Regions from separate parts of the Homo sapiens genome. Here region 2 is linked to region 1. Evidence: promoter capture Hi-C in 16 types of primary human blood cells and fetal thymus (Javierre and others, 2016). All regions are on one chromosome and are shown on one strand. Each heading gives the region's core, a stretch centred on a gene start or on the middle of the fragment in contact. The rest is flanking DNA. Distances are from core to core; before and after follow the strand shown.

Region 1 (4,321 bases), core at 443-2,942:
GAAGTTAGGTGCTATTTCCTTTTTTATCGATTGGGTCATTTTTATTGATCAGATCTAAAACATAGAGCTTGATGCAAAGATTAAGATATTAATAATTTTGGAGGTCCAAGCCCAAGGACAAACAAAAAGAGAAGTGAGGCAAAGTAAGATGTAATGTAACGCGGTGCTAGGGGTTATCACCCTGGTTACTGCTTCACAATGAACCTGATGTTGCTGGTCTGGGAATTACATTTAGAGATCCACTGGCCTAGAAAATAGAGTTTAAACTCAGCAGCATGGCCGTTAGCGATTGCTCATGCCACTTTGCATACTTTGTGCTCCTTCCTCACCACCAAGTCCCTAGGGTTCAGTCACACCAGACTACAAGATTTTCCAAAGCACAGTCTATGCTTTCATTCATGTGATCTTTGTTCTGTGTAATCCACCCCCATCGCTGCTCTCTGCATGACAGATGATGAAAAAGGGAACTCTGAAGAGAGAGAGGGAGAGAGAGACACACCTCATTCTCATTCTTCACCTGATTTTCCTCTTAGAAAGTCCCCTACTCATCATGCAAGGTCTTACTGAAATGCCACTACTATAGAAACTTTTCTCCAATCTTGTCTCTAAATTACAACGAACCACTGATTTCTGTTATCCTAATACTTTATATGTATCTCAATGCAAATACGATACCAAAACCTTTTACCCTGCTCTCTGCCTTGGAGGTGGTACTGAGGGCTGACCTCTAAGTACCACATCAGCTCCATTCTCTGATTACTCATTGGGTTCTGCAGTGGGAGGTACCAGCACGAGATTGGAAGGCACACGGAGAGAGTACTTGGGATGCTTATACTCCCCTGGCTGTCTTCCGAAAGCAGTCATGGGTTCTACCTGCTGGCACTTGGTATAGCTCTTACCAAGTTCAGGAGATGCCCCCTCCCTTGCCCCTTCAGCCTAGATGGTAAGGGGAGGAGGCTACTTCACCATCTCTCAATGGTTTCCTTAACCCTTTGCCCACACCTGTGTAAATAATTTCTTTATTAAATTATCTTCAATTATTAATTTTGAGTATACCATCTGTATACTGCCAGGACTTTTCGTGATACACCAGGTAACAGTATTAATCTATGTTTTATTTCTCCACCTCCTACTTCACCCCTCACTCCAAAGAGAGGGGATCTGTGTCTAATTCATCTTTATAATCTTAACACAGTGCCAGGCATATCAAAGGCCTTCAATACGCGTTGATTGAATTAAATAATGCCCTGTTGGGCCAGAGGGGAACCTGACTCCAGCCCTGGCTTAGGGAGCACAGGAGAGAACCCAGTGTATTTTTCTAAATATGGGTGTGTAGGGAGAATTGGGGGGAAAGGAGTGGGATGCCCAACAGAAAAGGAAAGGAATACTGATTCCTGTGTTTTAATGTGCCAGGCATTCTACAGACTTTATCTCATTTAATCTTCATTATAATAACATGAAATAGTTATGGCTGTGCCCACTGTACAGATGCTATTGACTGAGGCTACATAACTAATAAAATTGCAGACCTCAGGATTTTGACCCAGGATTTGTCTGGCAGTAACGTCTGTCCCAAAGGGCGACACAATCCTGAGGCAGCTGTTCGCAAACTCGAGGCCTCAATCTTTGACGGAAGCGGTTTTCAGAGAAAAGAAGTTCGAGGCACAAGCCTGTTGGGTGGGGCGCAACTGCAGTCCCAGCGAGCTGAGGATGGCTGCGCCAGGCCCCCTTCCTGCCGCTGCTCTGAGTCCAGGGGCTCCGACCCCCAGAGAACTTATGCACGGAGTTGCAGGTGTTACTTCCAGAGCCGGACGAGATCGGGAGGCGGGGAGCGTGCTGCCGGCCGGGAACCGTGGGGCGCGGAAGGCCTCCCGGCGCTCTTCCTCCCGGAGTATGGTGAGGAGCGCGGGGGACGGGTGCGGGAAGGGGACAGCAGGGCTGAGCCTGGGGCCCGCAAGACCCAGCAGCCCGAGCGGGCGCAGAGACCCCACGCCACGCACAACCCTCTCTTCTAGGGGGCGCCGACTACACTGACTTCCCTGTTCCGGAAGAGGGGGATGCGTGCTGCTTCTTTTTCCTTAGCATTTCTGGTGGTTTTTTTTTTTTTTCCCTTAAAATTTAAAAGTTCTTTATAAAGTTTGAAAGGATATGAGTCCTTTATTCGTGATATGTGTTATGAATATGTCCTCCCAATTTATTTTTTGTTTTTTGAGTTTGCTTATGGGGGGCTTTTGTTTCTCTTTGCCATGCAAATATTTTAAATTTTGTGTGGCAAGACTTACCAGTCTTTTATTTTATGACGTCTAGACTTTTAGTCATATTTTAATATATGACTTTTAGTCATACTCTTCCCTACACCCAAGTTATAGAAGAGTTCACTCATGCTTGCTTCTAGTACTTGAACTGATGTATTTTTTACATTTAGATCTATAATACATTTGGAGTGTGTTATTGTGTGTGGTTTGAGGAGTGAATCTAATTATTTTTTTTCAAATGGGTATCAAGTGTCCCAACACCATTTATTATAAAGGTCGTCACTGTCCCAGTAACTTGAGATACCAGCTTTATCATGTACTAGACTTTCATATGTGGTTCGGGTATTTCTGGACCTTCTATTTTCATCCATTGACCCGTTTATTCATCTGCTTTAGAGAGGCTTTGCTGTATGTTTTAATGTCAGGGCTAGTCTTCCTAGAGAGTGCTTCCTTGTCACTATTTTCCTAGCTATTCTTGTTGTTTATTTTTCCTTATGAACTTTTCTGATGTATGATCAGTTTAAAAAAAAAAAAGAAAAGCTCTTTGGAATTTTTATTGGGATTGCATTAAATTAATAAATTACAGAGAGCTGATATCTTTAGGTGGTGTTGACATGGTCTAACCTACTGTGCTGTGAAAGATTGAAAATTTGAGTATGTAATGTATATGATATTAAATTGTGAATTGGTGGGACATATGTAACAGCTTTTCAACAATTGTAGATACTGGTACTTCATATCCTCTTAAGGAAAATTTGCCTCCAAATTTTAAGCTGGAAAGTCACTAGAATAACTTTTAAAAACAATTACAATACATGACTTTTTAAACTTTTTTGTGTGTGTATGTTAAGAATAGTGTACAAATTGAAATATCTGTGTACTGATCCTCGACACAACCAATGAAATCTCCATTATGAAGGAATGTTTTGAAGCACATAGAAAAGGAAGCGAAACAAAGGATGCCTTTTCATTGTTTAAGTCTATTTTTGTGTCTTTAAAGAAGGTTTATAGTTATCTTCACATAAAACATTTCAATTTTTCTTTTTTCTCAATATTATATATGAGGTTTACTCATTCGCTATGTTGTCTATTTACGTGTATGTATGCTTTGATGTTTTCTTTCATTTTAAAAATTAAGGTGTAATTTACAGACAGCTTTTCTATATTTAGAAAATTCATACTTTTTAGTGTATACTTCTGTGAGTTTTGACAAATGTTTACCAGTATAATGAAGATATAAAAGAGTTTTCTACCAGTTTCTTTGTCTTCAACCTCTTCACTCAAGATGAGCTCCTGGCAACCACTAGGGTCATCTTTTGGTCCCTGTAGTTCCAGAACGTCATGTACATGAAATCATTCAGCAGAGAGTCTTTGGAGCCTTAGGTATCACTAATTTGCTACTGCTTTCTATTAATAGTTAAATTTCATTGTGGTCAGAAAACATATTTTTCATTATTTGAATTCTTTAAAATCTATGTATTGAGGGCCGGTCGCGGTGGCTCACGCCTGTAATCCCAGCACTTTGGGAGGCCAAGGTAGGTGGATCACTTGAGGTCAGGAGTTCAAGATCAGCCTGGCGAACATGGTGAAACCTCGTCTCTACTAAAAATACAAAAATTAGCCAGGCATGGTGGCACACACCTGTAGTCCCAGCTACTCAAGAGGCTGAGGTAGGAGAATTGCTGGAACCTGGGAGGCAGAGGTTGCAGTGAGCTGAGATTGCGCCACTGCACTCCAGCCTGGGTGACAGAGCAAGACTCTGTCTGAACAACAACAGCAACTATATGTATATATATATATATATATATATATATATATATATATGCACGCGCGCACACACACACACAGAGACATTTGTCTTATGGACACAATATGATCTATCTTGGTAAATTTCCAAGCACACTTGAAAACAAAGTACATTCTCTCATTGGATAGAGTGTTCTATAAATGTCAATTAGGTGGAGTTGGTTGTTGTTCAAGTCCTCATGTCCTTACTGATTTTATGTCTACTTGTTCTATCAATTATTTAGAGAGGATGATGAAATCTCCAACTATAATTGTGGATT
Region 2 (4,645 bases), core at 1,338-3,837, 190 kb before region 1:
CGCCTGTAGTCCCAGCTACTCAGGAGGCTGAGGCAGGAGAATGGCGTGAAGCCGGGAGGCAGAGCTTGCAGTGAGCTGAGATCACAGCACTGCACTCCAGCCTGGGCAACAGAGCAAGACTCCGTCTCAAAAAAAAAAAAAATGTATTCATATGACTAGAAAGAGGTCACTAATGTTGGTAGAGTAATTTTAGTAAAATGATTGGAGAAGGAAACATTGTAGCAAAATAAAGTGTGGGTGGTGAAGTGAAGTAGTAGATACATGCCATTTATTCAATCATTTGAGCTATGAAAAAGAGGAAATAAGAATTTTATTAATAGTACCTGTTGAGAACAAGTGAATGCTTTGTCCAACATAGTGGACCTTCAGTGTTATTGTAGAGTAATAAGACAGAATTCTCAGTAACTACTAGTAGAAGTTACTGGAGAAGTAGTCAGCCTTTCTGGAAAGTAGTATAGATGGATAGATAGATAGATAGATAGATAGATAGATAGATAGATAGATAGATAGATAGATGAGATAGATAGATGGAAACTTAAAGGGGTTCATACCCTTTTACCCTTCACTTCCAGGATTTTATTCTAAGGAAATAATCAGAAATACCATCAAAGATGTATGTAGAGAACTGTTCATTGAAACATTACTTATAACACTGAAAAATTGGAAAGAAATCAAGTTGTAGGGAATTACTACATTCAGATTATAGCTGTGTGTCGGGTTTTATACAGCTATTAAAAGTATTAATATCTTGGAAAGTATTTGTGACATAGCAAGATACAGTATTATCTGATTATGAAAAATGTATATGTTTTATGTAAGTATAGGAAAGGTCTGAAAAGAAATATTAATGCACCAAGTTGTTATCCCTAAGTGCTATGATTATGAGTGCTTTTATTTTTCTTCACATCTTTTTTTAACTTCCAAATTTTCTGTAATGAGCAAGTGTTACTTTTATCATTTAAAGTTTGTTTTACTAAAAGCTTTTTACATAACATGGTGTGTAACAACTTGGTGGTACAAAGGTTTTTACATAGTGAGACCCGATCTCTACAAAACAAATTTTTTTAATTAGCTAGACATGGTGGCATCTGCCTGTGGTCCCAACTACTCCAGAAGATGATACAGGAGGATCGCTTGAGCCCGGTTCAAAGTTACAGTGAGCTATGATCTCTCCACTGCCCTTTACCCTAGGTGACAAAGTGAGACCTTGTCTCTAAAAAAAAAAATAAGTTTTTTAGTTTTGATTTTAAAGATGGGGGAGATAACATTTGGCAGGAAAAAGGCAGTGGAAAATAAGGATAAGTTTGGTACGACATCCCTCAGCAGAGGGATTACTACTTAAGAATAAAGGAAGACTGGTATTTCTTCAAGCCTGCAGGGAAGGATGAGAAAACGGATATAGGGAGTCTGTTTCTGTCACAAAGCCCAGGTCAACAGCTAAGGCCTAGAGAGTTTCAGATAGACACTCTGGGGAGTGGGTTGTAATATTGATTCTCTGATTCCCAGAGAGTTGTCATATCTCCAGTCACATCACCTATGGTTTTCTCCAAGAGGACCTTGAAAGATTCTGAGAAAGAAAAAGCATCCCTACCTTTCCTCACTGTCTATCATGGGGTTGGAAAGGATATTTATGGAAAGGAGGGGACTACCAGGAGAGAAGCTGGTACTTCAACCAGCCTCACCCTGGCTGACCACTATAGCCTCCAGCTAGCAATGATATTTCTAAGGCACTGGTTTTCAGATTATGGGTCCCCCATAGCAGAAGTTTCACCATTACCTGGGCAATTGTTAGAAGTGCACATTCTCAGGTTCTGTCCATACTGACTGTATCAGTTGGGTCCAGTAATCTGTTTCACAGGGTCCCCCAGGTGATTTCGATAGATAAAAAAGTTAAGAACCTTTACTCTTAAGATTAGCCGTTTGCCACCCAGAGCCTTAGAGACAGCTGTGAGGCTTCATCTTAACTTCCTGCTAGGGCCCTGGAGACACAGAATTGGTCAGCCAGGGACAAGCTGTTAAGTCCAGCTAGAGGGTTAAAGGGCTGTTTTTCTTTTGGTTTGTATGTTTTTAATCGTGATCCACCAGAGGATGGAAAATTTCTGGCTTGGACGTCTGGTCAATATATTCTGTCTCTTTGAGAGAAAACGAAGGTCTTAGTAATGATATTAAAGTTTGTTTATGCTTTCATGTTGTTATAATTGCAAAATAAAAACCAAGACCACATCAAATACTTCAGACATTTTTTAGCGATAACTTTTTAAAATTTAAAATTTTATTTTATTTTATTTTTGAGAGAAGGTCTGGCATTATCGCCCAGGCTGAAGTGCAGTGGCATGATCTCAGCTCTCTGCAACCTCTGCCTCCAGGGCTCAAGCCACCCTTCTGCCTCAGCCTCCTGAGTAGCTGGGACCACAGGCACATGCCACTGCGCCCAGCTAGTTTTTGTATTTTTTGTAGAGGTGGGGTTTCACTATGTAGTGATAACATTTTTAAAAATATTTTTAAAGCAAGACCTCATCTTTAAAAAAATATATTTACATTAGTCTATTATTCTAATATCTATAATAAGATAATATGTGTGTATGTTTTAATCAGCATTTATACTGTAGGGAGGTAAAAGTTATTAGCATACAATATGAAGTTGTAGTAAGAAAAAGTTGGGAGATACAGTCTGATCTAGGTGAACCTCTCATGTCTCCAAGTCCTTACCCTCCATAACTACCTCAGTACCTCTCTCACATCAAATTCTACTTGTCTTCCCATTATTCATTCTGTTCTGGCCATACTGGCCTTCTCTTTATGGGCTCTAGAATCTTTTAGGGTCTTTGCATTTATAATTCTTTCTGTTTGGAATATTCTTCCACCAGATAGCTGCATAGCTAGCCCTTGCTTCCCTTCAAGAGTGACATTCTCACAGAGGACTTCCTAACTACTCTATGTAAAATTTCATACACAGCCCATTCCAAACACATACTTCATGTCCCCATTGTTTATTTTTTTCTCTCTGGCACTTAGTATCTAACATATGTATAACTTTCTCCCCAGTAGAATGCAAGTTCTATTGGCACAGATTTTTATCTTTTTTATATATTGCCTAAAACAATGCCTGGCACATAGGAAGTACTTTGTTGAATGAATTACTCCAACATACATCGATGTCACTGATAGTAGGTATACATGTTAGCATTTTTTGCTTTATTATTTCTCAAACTGAGCTAGCTGAGAGGCAGTTTGTCTTCTGTTCTCCTAAACTGCCTTTGTTCTATAATTAGGAGGAATGGGAAAGGACAGCTGTCTTAGGAAATAATTATTGATTCTTTTTCTGTTTAAAGAGCAGAGTCCTTCTAGCTTGCTGCCGGTTAACCTTGTTCCTTTTGTAAGTGCCTGCCAAAGGAGGAATGGGATAGCATTGTGTGAGATGGGGCCTTGTAGGTCACATTAAACCAGTGGTTCTCTGGGGAGATGAAAAAGTCCTGGAGATGGATAGTAGTAATAGTTGCACAGCAGTGTAAATGTACTTAATGCCACTGAATTGTACACTTAAAATAATTAAAATGGTAAATTTTATGTTATGTATATTTAACCACATCTTAGGGGAGAGAAAAGCCTAGGTTCTCAAAGTATAGTCCAGAACCAGCATAGCAGCATCACCTAGGAACTTGTTAGAAATGCGAATTCCCAGCCTCCATTCCAGAACTGTGGATGCAGAAACTGGAGGTAGACAGCCTCATGATTTGTGTTTTAACAAGGCATTCCTCTGATTCACACCAAACACTAAAACACTAAAATTTGAAGATCACAGGATTTAATAATTGTGTCTTAATCCTGAGTGCTATGAAAATCTATTGAAGAGTTTCATAGACTTTTCCCATGGCCTCATAACTGCATAATTAACTTTGTCAGAAATCCTGACCACATTAGGGGTAAAATTGAAAAGTGTTCTAGAAGTTTTATCAAAGTTAATGTTTTACATAATATTTCAAAAAAAAAATAAACTTAACAGTTAGAGAGCCTGCTGTGTTTCAAGCATCTTACCAGATGCTCCCATATTTGCTTTTCCATTTAACCCTCAAATCAACTTTGGTACAAGAAACACTGCATTATCCACATTTTAAATGAGGAAACAAGCTAAAAGCAGTTAATTTATCTCCTTTCCACTAGGTGGCACTGATGTTGTGTTTGCCAGATCCAGGCAAAGCTTTCTGGCATTTATAGCCCTAGAAAACAAAATAAATGAGGCCTTTTATGAAAAAGACTGTGTGCCAGGTAACCACAAATAGAGATTCCAACTTCTGGTGTGTCAAGAGTAAGGACCTCTGAAAATCCATTTTTACCCAAAAGCAATGATAACACTGCCAGAAGTTGGCAGAAGCAACTTTTCCAGAACTCTGGAAAATTACCAGGCATTTGTGACAATCTGAGGAGCATTTATCCAAAAAAAAAAGCCTGAAATCGTGGTAGGACAGCAAGTTTTGTGGAGTTTTAACTTGCTTTATTCCTGTCTTCTTTCAGCTTCACAATAGTCTTGAAAACCAACAGCCTCACAAATCACAGTTACTTTGAAAACCAGCAGCCTTGCAGGCACTGAAGAAGGCAGAATGGGTTTAAGAGTTTTCCAAAACTTCCAGCTGCAGAGAATTGTTAC

Evidence for each region. Contacts are between HindIII fragments. The CHiCAGO score rates a contact against its expected background, and 5 or more counts as called.
Region 2: a fragment that was not itself captured here is called in contact with the fragment with the promoter of PARP15 in region 1 in 1 of 17 cell types (activated CD4 T cells); the score reaches 5.2 in activated CD4 T cells.

What each region holds. Positions count from the first base shown.
Region 1 is chr3:122,575,958-122,580,278 of GRCh38, forward strand. PARP15 (poly(ADP-ribose) polymerase family member 15) reads left to right here and starts at 1,693. Exons shown (of 12, transcript NM_001113523.3): 1 at 1,693-1,896. The coding sequence starts at 1,711. RefSeq lists enhancers at 76-125, 1,660-1,939 and a silencer at 2,000-2,049. The HindIII fragment of the contact is 6,929 bases long and covers 1-4,321 here.
Region 2 is chr3:122,388,921-122,393,565 of GRCh38, forward strand. All of the region lies in intron 1 of FAM162A (family with sequence similarity 162 member A), which reads left to right. Among named protein-coding and RNA genes, the nearest start is that of FAM162A, 7.1 kb to the left of the region's middle. The HindIII fragment of the contact is 3,218 bases long and covers 979-4,196 here.